2 separate regions of the Homo sapiens genome follow, and region 2 is linked to region 1. The links are contacts of gene promoters, found by promoter capture Hi-C in blood cells and fetal thymus (Javierre and others, 2016). All regions are on one chromosome and are shown on one strand. The core of a region is centred on a gene start or on the middle of the fragment in contact, and the rest is flanking DNA. Distances in the headings are between cores, read along the strand shown. Region 1 holds the start of TUFT1 (tuftelin 1). Region 2 overlaps TDRKH (tudor and KH domain containing).

Region 1 (3,615 bases), core at 303-2,802:
TCGCTTAAAAACAAAGAGCAGGGAGTAGGACTTGTGGCTGACACATAATGGATAGATTTCTTCCATCTCTTCAGAGTCTCATAGCTGGGGATGTGGCAGGCTACAGAAGAATGGGGTTTGGGCAACTGGGGTTGGCCAATAGCAACATCTGTATTTTAATGTGGCAAAAACACTCATAGCCCAGGCAGAAATGGAGAGGGGACTGGGAAAAGAACTAAATGACCATCTGTATTCTAAACCTGAAATGAGTTTGAAGAAGAGCCATAATCTAGCTGCAGTTGGGTTAGCTCTACCTCAAGAGCAGGATGAGGCAGGCAGAGAGTAAGGGAGTCAGATGTGGGAGGGGGGATGATACACAAGTTCCCCATCACCTTAGTTTTCATTTCACTCCCACCCACAATAGCTTGGAAATTGATGAAATAGTACACACCTAATCTGGGTTAAGTTCCCCAAAAGAGCCTAGAAACACTCAGCCACAAATTACCCTCCTCAGCCTCTGGAGAGGAAAAACCATATGGTCAGCTAGGGTGGGGAGAACTGGGACTGGGAGCCAGAGAAAGAGGAGAGAGGGGTAGACCAGCCTGCACTGGAGAACGCCCCCTTTCTCCGCAACCCTCTCCCCGTCCAGAAGCCTTCGCTTGGGTCACTTCCCTCCCCTTCTCGGCCCGGGTTCTGCATCCCCTTCCTCCACTATCCCAGGGCCTGGCGGCTGGAGACGGAAGCAAAACTAACACACCGTCCCAGGAAGCTATCGGCAGGCAGATAGAGGGAGGAAAACAAGAGAACTACAAGGGGGAAGAAGGAGAAATCCAAGACAAGAGGTGACCCCCGGGCGGAAAGCCCTATCCCTTAGCGAAAGGTAGAGTCCCTAGCCAATCTCGGAATAGTTTGAGTCCTACCGTCCCCTACTTGCCCCCCGCCCTCCAGTCCAAGCCCTGTAATTTACTCTACCATTTTTCTTGTTACTGATCATCCAAAGCACCATGATGAAATTCTTTGGAGGGCCTCGGAGGTCACCAGGACCCTCGACCCACGGGAAAGCCTAAGCCTCCTCGGCAGGACACAACGTCCAAAGGCGCTCAGGGACCCAGTCGCTTGAGCTCATTCTCTTATGACCCAATGTGGCTGCCCAAAAGACGCCTGAGACCCGCGGCCCAAGCACGGGCTCGCCGGCGCCGAGTCCCAGGCAGGAGCCGCAGTGTCCTACCAAAGGGCAGGGACGCCCCGAACCCTCCAGCCTCAAAGGAGTCTTCACCCCGCGACTCCCACTGCCCGTCGCAGGCAAAAGAATAAAAAGAGAGAAGCGCCGCGCAGGGCTGACCGCGCGAGCCGGGCACCAGGTGATGTCAGCCAACACGGCGCGGGGCACGGAAGGGGCGGACTTAGAAACCGGGAATACAAAACGGAGAAGACAGCGAGAGCGCTTTTTCTTACCGCCGCCTGGTCCTCTGGGTGCACGTCCACCAGGGTACACCAGTTCCGCGTCCCGTTCATCTTCCCTCGGGGTCGCAGCACACACGCCACTTGTCCACCCCGCTGTCTGGCTCCAACTGGGCGGGCGCGCGCGGAACCGCCCCCTTGTATAGGCCCATCAGGGGCGGGGCTGAAGATAGGCCGCGCCCCCAGTTCGCGGTTTCGCAGAGAACTAACGATAGGCGAGGAGGTGAGGTGGGCGGAGCCAATGGGTCTGGGACATGCCCCATCGGTGCTCGCATAGATTTACACAAAGGTGGGGCTTGGGAGCGACATGGGGCTGCTTTAACTGAACAGCTTTATCTGGAGTATGTGGTTGCACATTCTTCATTAATCTTGTCGCTTTCCATCTTTCCAAGATCAGTGTTGGTCAGAGGGAATCACCCTGCCTGCTCCTAGTGGATGAGGAGTTGGAACCTGCAAAAGCTTCCTTCCATACATGCTCCTCTCCCTATACGTAAGCCACCTGTAGGCTTTGTGGAGCTGAGTAAACCTTTCCTCCACCGCAGAAAGGCAGGCACCAAGGTCCAGCTCACTCAGACTGGCCTAAGCCAGTCTGGCAGGTGCACTTCCTTGGCAAGAGGCCCAGGAGGCCCAGTCAGCTTAGGCTCTGGGTGGGGCTTGTTTTGCAGAAGCTCTTTTACTGACGCTGCCCTTATATAGTTGGGAGAGGCGGGACACATTGCCTTAAAAGGAATTTGTGTTCGTGAGAAAGGATGAGCCTTGACTTTTCCAGTTGCATTTTCTCCCCAAGCCTAGGCTGGGATCTTGAGGGCCTAGAAGAGAGGGTTGGCCAAGCAGGACCCTGGAGCTTCGTCCCCGCCCAGCTGCTCTTGGCAGATGGCTTCTTCACTTGGCTGTGGTCCACAGAGACAGCAGACAGAATACTTTAGGAGGAGGTCTGACCCACTCCTGAAGGGATAGTACTCCTATACCTGGCAATAGGCTCTAGTGAAGGGCCAGCTCCCTCTTCAAGGCAACACTAGGGCAGGAACAGCAGAAATGTCCCTACCTCCCAGTTAGGGACTGGGTCCTATGTCAGTTAGGAATGAATGAGGATTTTTCTACCTGGGAAGTGAATGCTGGGGTTATCACTATGACCCAAGGGAATAAAACCCAGTTCTGGTCTGTTCTACTCTAACCCTCAAAAAGGCATTTACTGCTGGCCAGGCGCAGTGGCTTATGCCTGTAATCCCACCACTTTGGGAGGCCGAGGTGGGCGGATCACAAGGTCAGGAGTTTGAGACCAGCCTGACCAACACAGTGAAACGCCATCTCTACTAAAAATACAAAAATTAGCTGGGTGTGGAGGCACGCGCCTGTAATCCCAGCTACTCAGGAGGCTGAGGCAGGAGAATCGCTTGAACCCGGGAGGCAGAGGTTGCAGTGAGCTGAGATCATGCCATTACACTCCAGCCTGGGTGACAGAGTGAGACTCCGTCTCAAAAAAAAAAAAAAAAAAAAGGCATTTACTGTCCTTGTTCTTCCCAGAAGGTTGTTCAGGAGAGAAGAGAATGGGGCTGCTATAAACATCTCCAGGTTTCGTAGGTCCCATCTGCTCTGTTCTAAAGGGCCTCTGAAAAGTCAGGTGAAGAAAACTCCAGCTTCGGCTCCTAAGCTGTACAGTTAATATGACTTCATAAAATCTGGACCTCCAAATATGCCAAGAAAAAGAATGAGAAGACAAACCAAGGATTTCAATATAAATGTGTAATTTTAATATTTAATTTAAAATAAAACCAAGGCTGGATTGGATTGGGAAAGAACGTTTGATTTGCAGAAGAATATAGGAATTTTTTTAATCACGACATTACAAGTCATTTGTGAAAACAGCCTTCCTCCTGCCACCGGCTCCCTATACAACCTGCTTAGGAAATATGGAGGTGAATCATCCCCCTTACCTCTTCCCTACCAGGGCTTGGTTCTCCCCAAAATCCAAAGGAGAAATAAATGTCTTCCGTTGCCTCTTCCCATTTTTACAGTCAGCTTCTAACCCCTTGCAAAGCCCTGAATCAGAGCCAAGCACCTCAGAAAATGAGGGTCCCTTGGTTCTCTTATTGAAGTTGGGCACATGTGGTCAGAGAAGCCCCAAGGAAGGCCACAGGGACTGACACCTTTACTTTTGGAATTTGTGCAGCCAGT
Region 2 (3,782 bases), core at 54-2,553, 240 kb before region 1:
TTCAACATCTTGTATTTTGTTCACTTTAGAAATGAGAACTGATTCTCTTCTCCTAGTATATACAAAACAGTGATTTCTCCAGTAGCTAAGGTTGGCCAGGAGGGAAGGGCAGGTTTTTATATATTGTTTAATGTAGGGAGAGGCGGCGAGACAATTCGTTCTATCTGTAAGGCATCTGGAGCCAAAATTACCTGTGACAAAGAATCAGAAGGGACATTACTACTATCAAGACTTATAAAAATCTCAGGAACACAGAAGGAAGTGGCAGCAGCCAAGGCAAGTAGCTAATAGACTTGAATTATACCTGAGCATGAGAAGATCCTTTTACTCTATCCCAGGTCAGAATATCATCCTTTCTCTTGTTTTCCACAGCATTTGATACTGGAGAAAGTTTCAGAAGATGAAGAACTTCGGAAGAGAATTGCTCATTCTGCAGAAACCAGGGTCCCACGCAAACAGCCAATCAGTGTGAGAAGAGAAGACATGACAGAGCCAGGTGGAGCTGGAGAGCCAGCATTATGGAAAAACACCAGTTCTAGCATGGAGCCGACTGCACCCCTGGTGACTCCTCCACCCAAAGGAGGAGGCGACATGGCTGTGGTAGTGTCAAAGGAAGGTTCCTGGGAGAAACCTAGTGATGACAGCTTTCAGAAGTCTGAAGCCCAGGCCATCCCAGAGATGCCCATGTTTGAAAGTATGTAACAAAGAGGGAGCCCATTAATCATTGAAGATAGAAATACTGGCTTAGATATTGGAGAGATTAGAAGGAATGCCTTCTCAGTCTGAGCAGCCAGTATAATATGGCTGGGGTCAGGACAGAAGATTCGGTAAGATATTTTGAAGATGGGATGGAGGTAGAATCCACACCAACAGTTGCTGGACAGTTTGAGGGTGCAGATGTTGATCACTGAAAATGATTTATGCAGGTATAAGATTCTGCTCCTAATTGTAGGAGAGAACTTGGTGCCTCTTCCACTCTGAAGCAAAGTTGATGAAAGTCTTCTTCCTTTTCCAAAACCCAACCTGAACTACTTCTTTCTTGAGACAGACTATATTGAGACAAGTTGTTACCAGCAAAAGATAGATACATGACCTTTATTAACAAAAATGAATTAACCAAGAGGATATTTGTAGTTTATTATTTACCCCAAACTTTCTGTGTCTGGGTACCCTCTGAGTAGGCCTATAATTCCTGCCTTCACTGTATGCATTTTATGTAAGCTAGCAGACCTATGTGGTGAGAATGCACAGGAGCTTGGAGGTATAAATAGACAGGGTGGGAAAGAGAGAGCTCCTTTCGCCATGTTTTACCAGCCCGCTCTGTTATAACCTCTTAGGTTATATTCTTTAATTTCCAACCTTTTAGGTTAGTTTCTGTAACAGAACAAATGAGTCTGGGATAAAGTCCTCAAAGTACTTCAAATGGTAATTGTTTTGTTTTTGTAACGGCTTAACAAATAACCTAGGTTTTCTGTTTAAAAAAAAAAGAAATACTGGCTTAGGGCATGGTGGCGCAACCTGTGGTTCCAACTACTTGGGAGGCTGAAATGGGAGAATCACATGAGCCCAGGAAGTCGAGGCTACAGTGAGCTGGGATTGCACCGTTGCACTCCAGCCTGGGTGACAGTGAGATCCTGTCTCAAAAAAAAAAAAAAAAAATTAACTATTTTTTTAAAAAGAAATACTGGCTTAGATTACCCAAAATAGGAAGCAATAAAAAGTCTTTTTTCATGAATACACTTATGTCTATCATCACAGATATTCCTTACTGGTAATAATATTTTACTTGAATTAATACTAAACATAAATATTTTTCTAAATATAAAACAGCTGATGGAAATGGCAAAATAATGCTGACACAGGAAACAAATGAGTAATACATCAAATAATTGGATTTACATGATATTGTTCCTCTAGACATACTTTTTTTTTTGAGACAGAGTCTTCCTCTGTCTCCCAGGCTGGAGTGCAATGGTGCATTCTCGGCTCACTGCAACCTCCGCCTCCCAGGTTCGAGTGATTCTCATGCCTCAGCCTCCCGAGTAGATGAGACCACAGGTGCACACCACCACATCCGACTGATTTTTGTATTTTTTAGTAGAGATGGGGTTTCACCATGTTGGACAGGCTGGACTCGAACTCCTGGCCTCAAATGATCCACCCACCTTGGCCTCCCAAAGTGCTGGGATTACAGGCATGAGCCACCATGCCCAGCCTAGACATACTTTATCAACAAGTAAAATTCTCAGCCAGATTTTATATTGCCTTTTTCATTACTGTTTTTAAAAATCATCACTATTGAAAAGGCTGTGAGCTTTCTCTTCTGTACATAGGTTTTGGCGTGGGCAAAGAGGACCTGGATTCCCAAGAAGCTCACAGACTTGTCCAGGGTCATGTAAAGAGTCAGTGGTAGAATGGGATCTGGAACAGGTCCATGTCCGTCACTGTCCATGTAAAGATTGCTGTCCATATACCTTTTTACTGATCCATGCTGTAGCTAGCATATGGAGGTTTACCTTCTGTATAATTGGTGACCGATTTGACTATGTAGCACATGACAAAGAATGTAAGCTGTTATTACTCAGTTACATGGAAAGGTACAAAGGATAGCTTAGTATCTTTCTTTAGGATATTCTTGTTTGATTCATCCAGTTGCCTCTCCTGCCATTTTAAAATGGTAACAGCCATTGGTATTTGTACCTCTCACTACCCTGGTTAGTCTCTTCATTCCAACCAGAGATGGGTCTGATGTGGCCACCATCCTTATCTCTGTGTTCAGTCCCCAGTCCTGACTTCAGTTTTCATGCTGATGAGTACCTAGAAGTCTACGTTTCTGCTTCTGAGCACCCTAACCACTTCTGGATCCAGATCGTTGGCTCCCGCAGCCTGCAATTGGATAAGCTTGTCAATGAGATGACCCAGCACTATGAGAATAGTGTGGTGAGTTGCCATAGGGACAGGGCTGGGGTTTAATGAAAAGAAGGCATATCTTTTTCATTGTACTCTTCCTTTCCCTGTGGAGCAACTACTTTTCTTTCTTCCTCCTGCAATTCTGTTTATGAGCCTACCACTTTGTAACTCTCTGCCTTTCTCCTCCTCCCCACATACAGCCTGAAGACTTGACTGTGCATGTAGGAGACATTGTAGCAGCACCTTTACCTACAAATGGTTCCTGGTATCGAGCCCGGGTCCTCGGCACCTTGGAGAATGGGAACTTGGACCTCTATTTTGTTGACTTTGGAGATAATGGAGATTGCCCACTGAAGGACCTCAGGGCTCTCAGGTCAGTGCTGAGGTCAGCTCAATCCCAACTGCTGACTCAGTTCTGGCCATAGGGTGGTGAGCTGTTGGCAGTTGTCAGGGGGATTTGGAAGGGAACCTGTTTACAGAGAGCAGATGGTTATCGTCTCATGTTAGTTGGTTCTTTCTGAAAGCAGCAATGTAAGAAGATGTTTTTGGCCCCAGGATTCTAATTTTAGTTTCTTTTACTTCAGGAGTGACTTCCTAAGCCTTCCATTTCAAGCAATAGAATGTAGTCTGGCACGGATTGCTCCCTCAGGTAAATTGGTCATGCCATCTATTGAGCTTACCTCCAAATAGAATAACTTCATACAGTTCATTGGAAGGAATTCTCACATTCCCAGGCTTTTTGAATTCTGGGGACTCAGGTGCCTTTTCCTCACCAGCACTAGCAGCAGCCAGAAACTTGCCTGGCAGACCCAACCCAACCAGAGAAGACACAGGTGCCTTCCTGAGTAGAAAAGGGTAGTTCCAACTTCCCT

Evidence for each region. The method cuts DNA at HindIII sites, captures the fragments that hold promoters and counts their contacts. A CHiCAGO score of 5 or more calls a contact.
Region 2: a contact is called between a fragment that was not itself captured here and the fragment with the promoter of TUFT1 in region 1, in 4 of 17 cell types (M1 macrophages, M0 macrophages, erythroblasts and 1 more). The highest score is 9.1, in M1 macrophages.

Annotation. Positions count from the first base shown.
Region 1 is chr1:151,538,246-151,541,860 of GRCh38, reverse strand. TUFT1 (tuftelin 1) reads right to left here and starts at 1,552. Exons shown (of 13, transcript NM_020127.3): 1 at 1,435-1,552. The coding sequence starts at 1,494. CGN (cingulin) reads right to left here. Exons shown (of 21, transcript NM_020770.3): 21 at 3,169-3,615. RefSeq lists enhancers at 745-1,259, 1,260-1,775, 2,291-2,807. The HindIII fragment of the contact is 3,648 bases long and covers 1-1,901 here.
Region 2 is chr1:151,775,597-151,779,378 of GRCh38, reverse strand. It overlaps TDRKH (tudor and KH domain containing), which reads left to right. Exons shown (of 13, transcript NM_001083965.2): 5 at 137-276; 6 at 373-694; 7 at 2,780-2,940; 8 at 3,111-3,283; 9 at 3,495-3,559. It also overlaps the pseudogene LOC100270670. Among named protein-coding and RNA genes, the nearest start is that of OAZ3, 11 kb to the right of the region's middle. The HindIII fragment of the contact is 3,201 bases long and covers 1-2,903 here.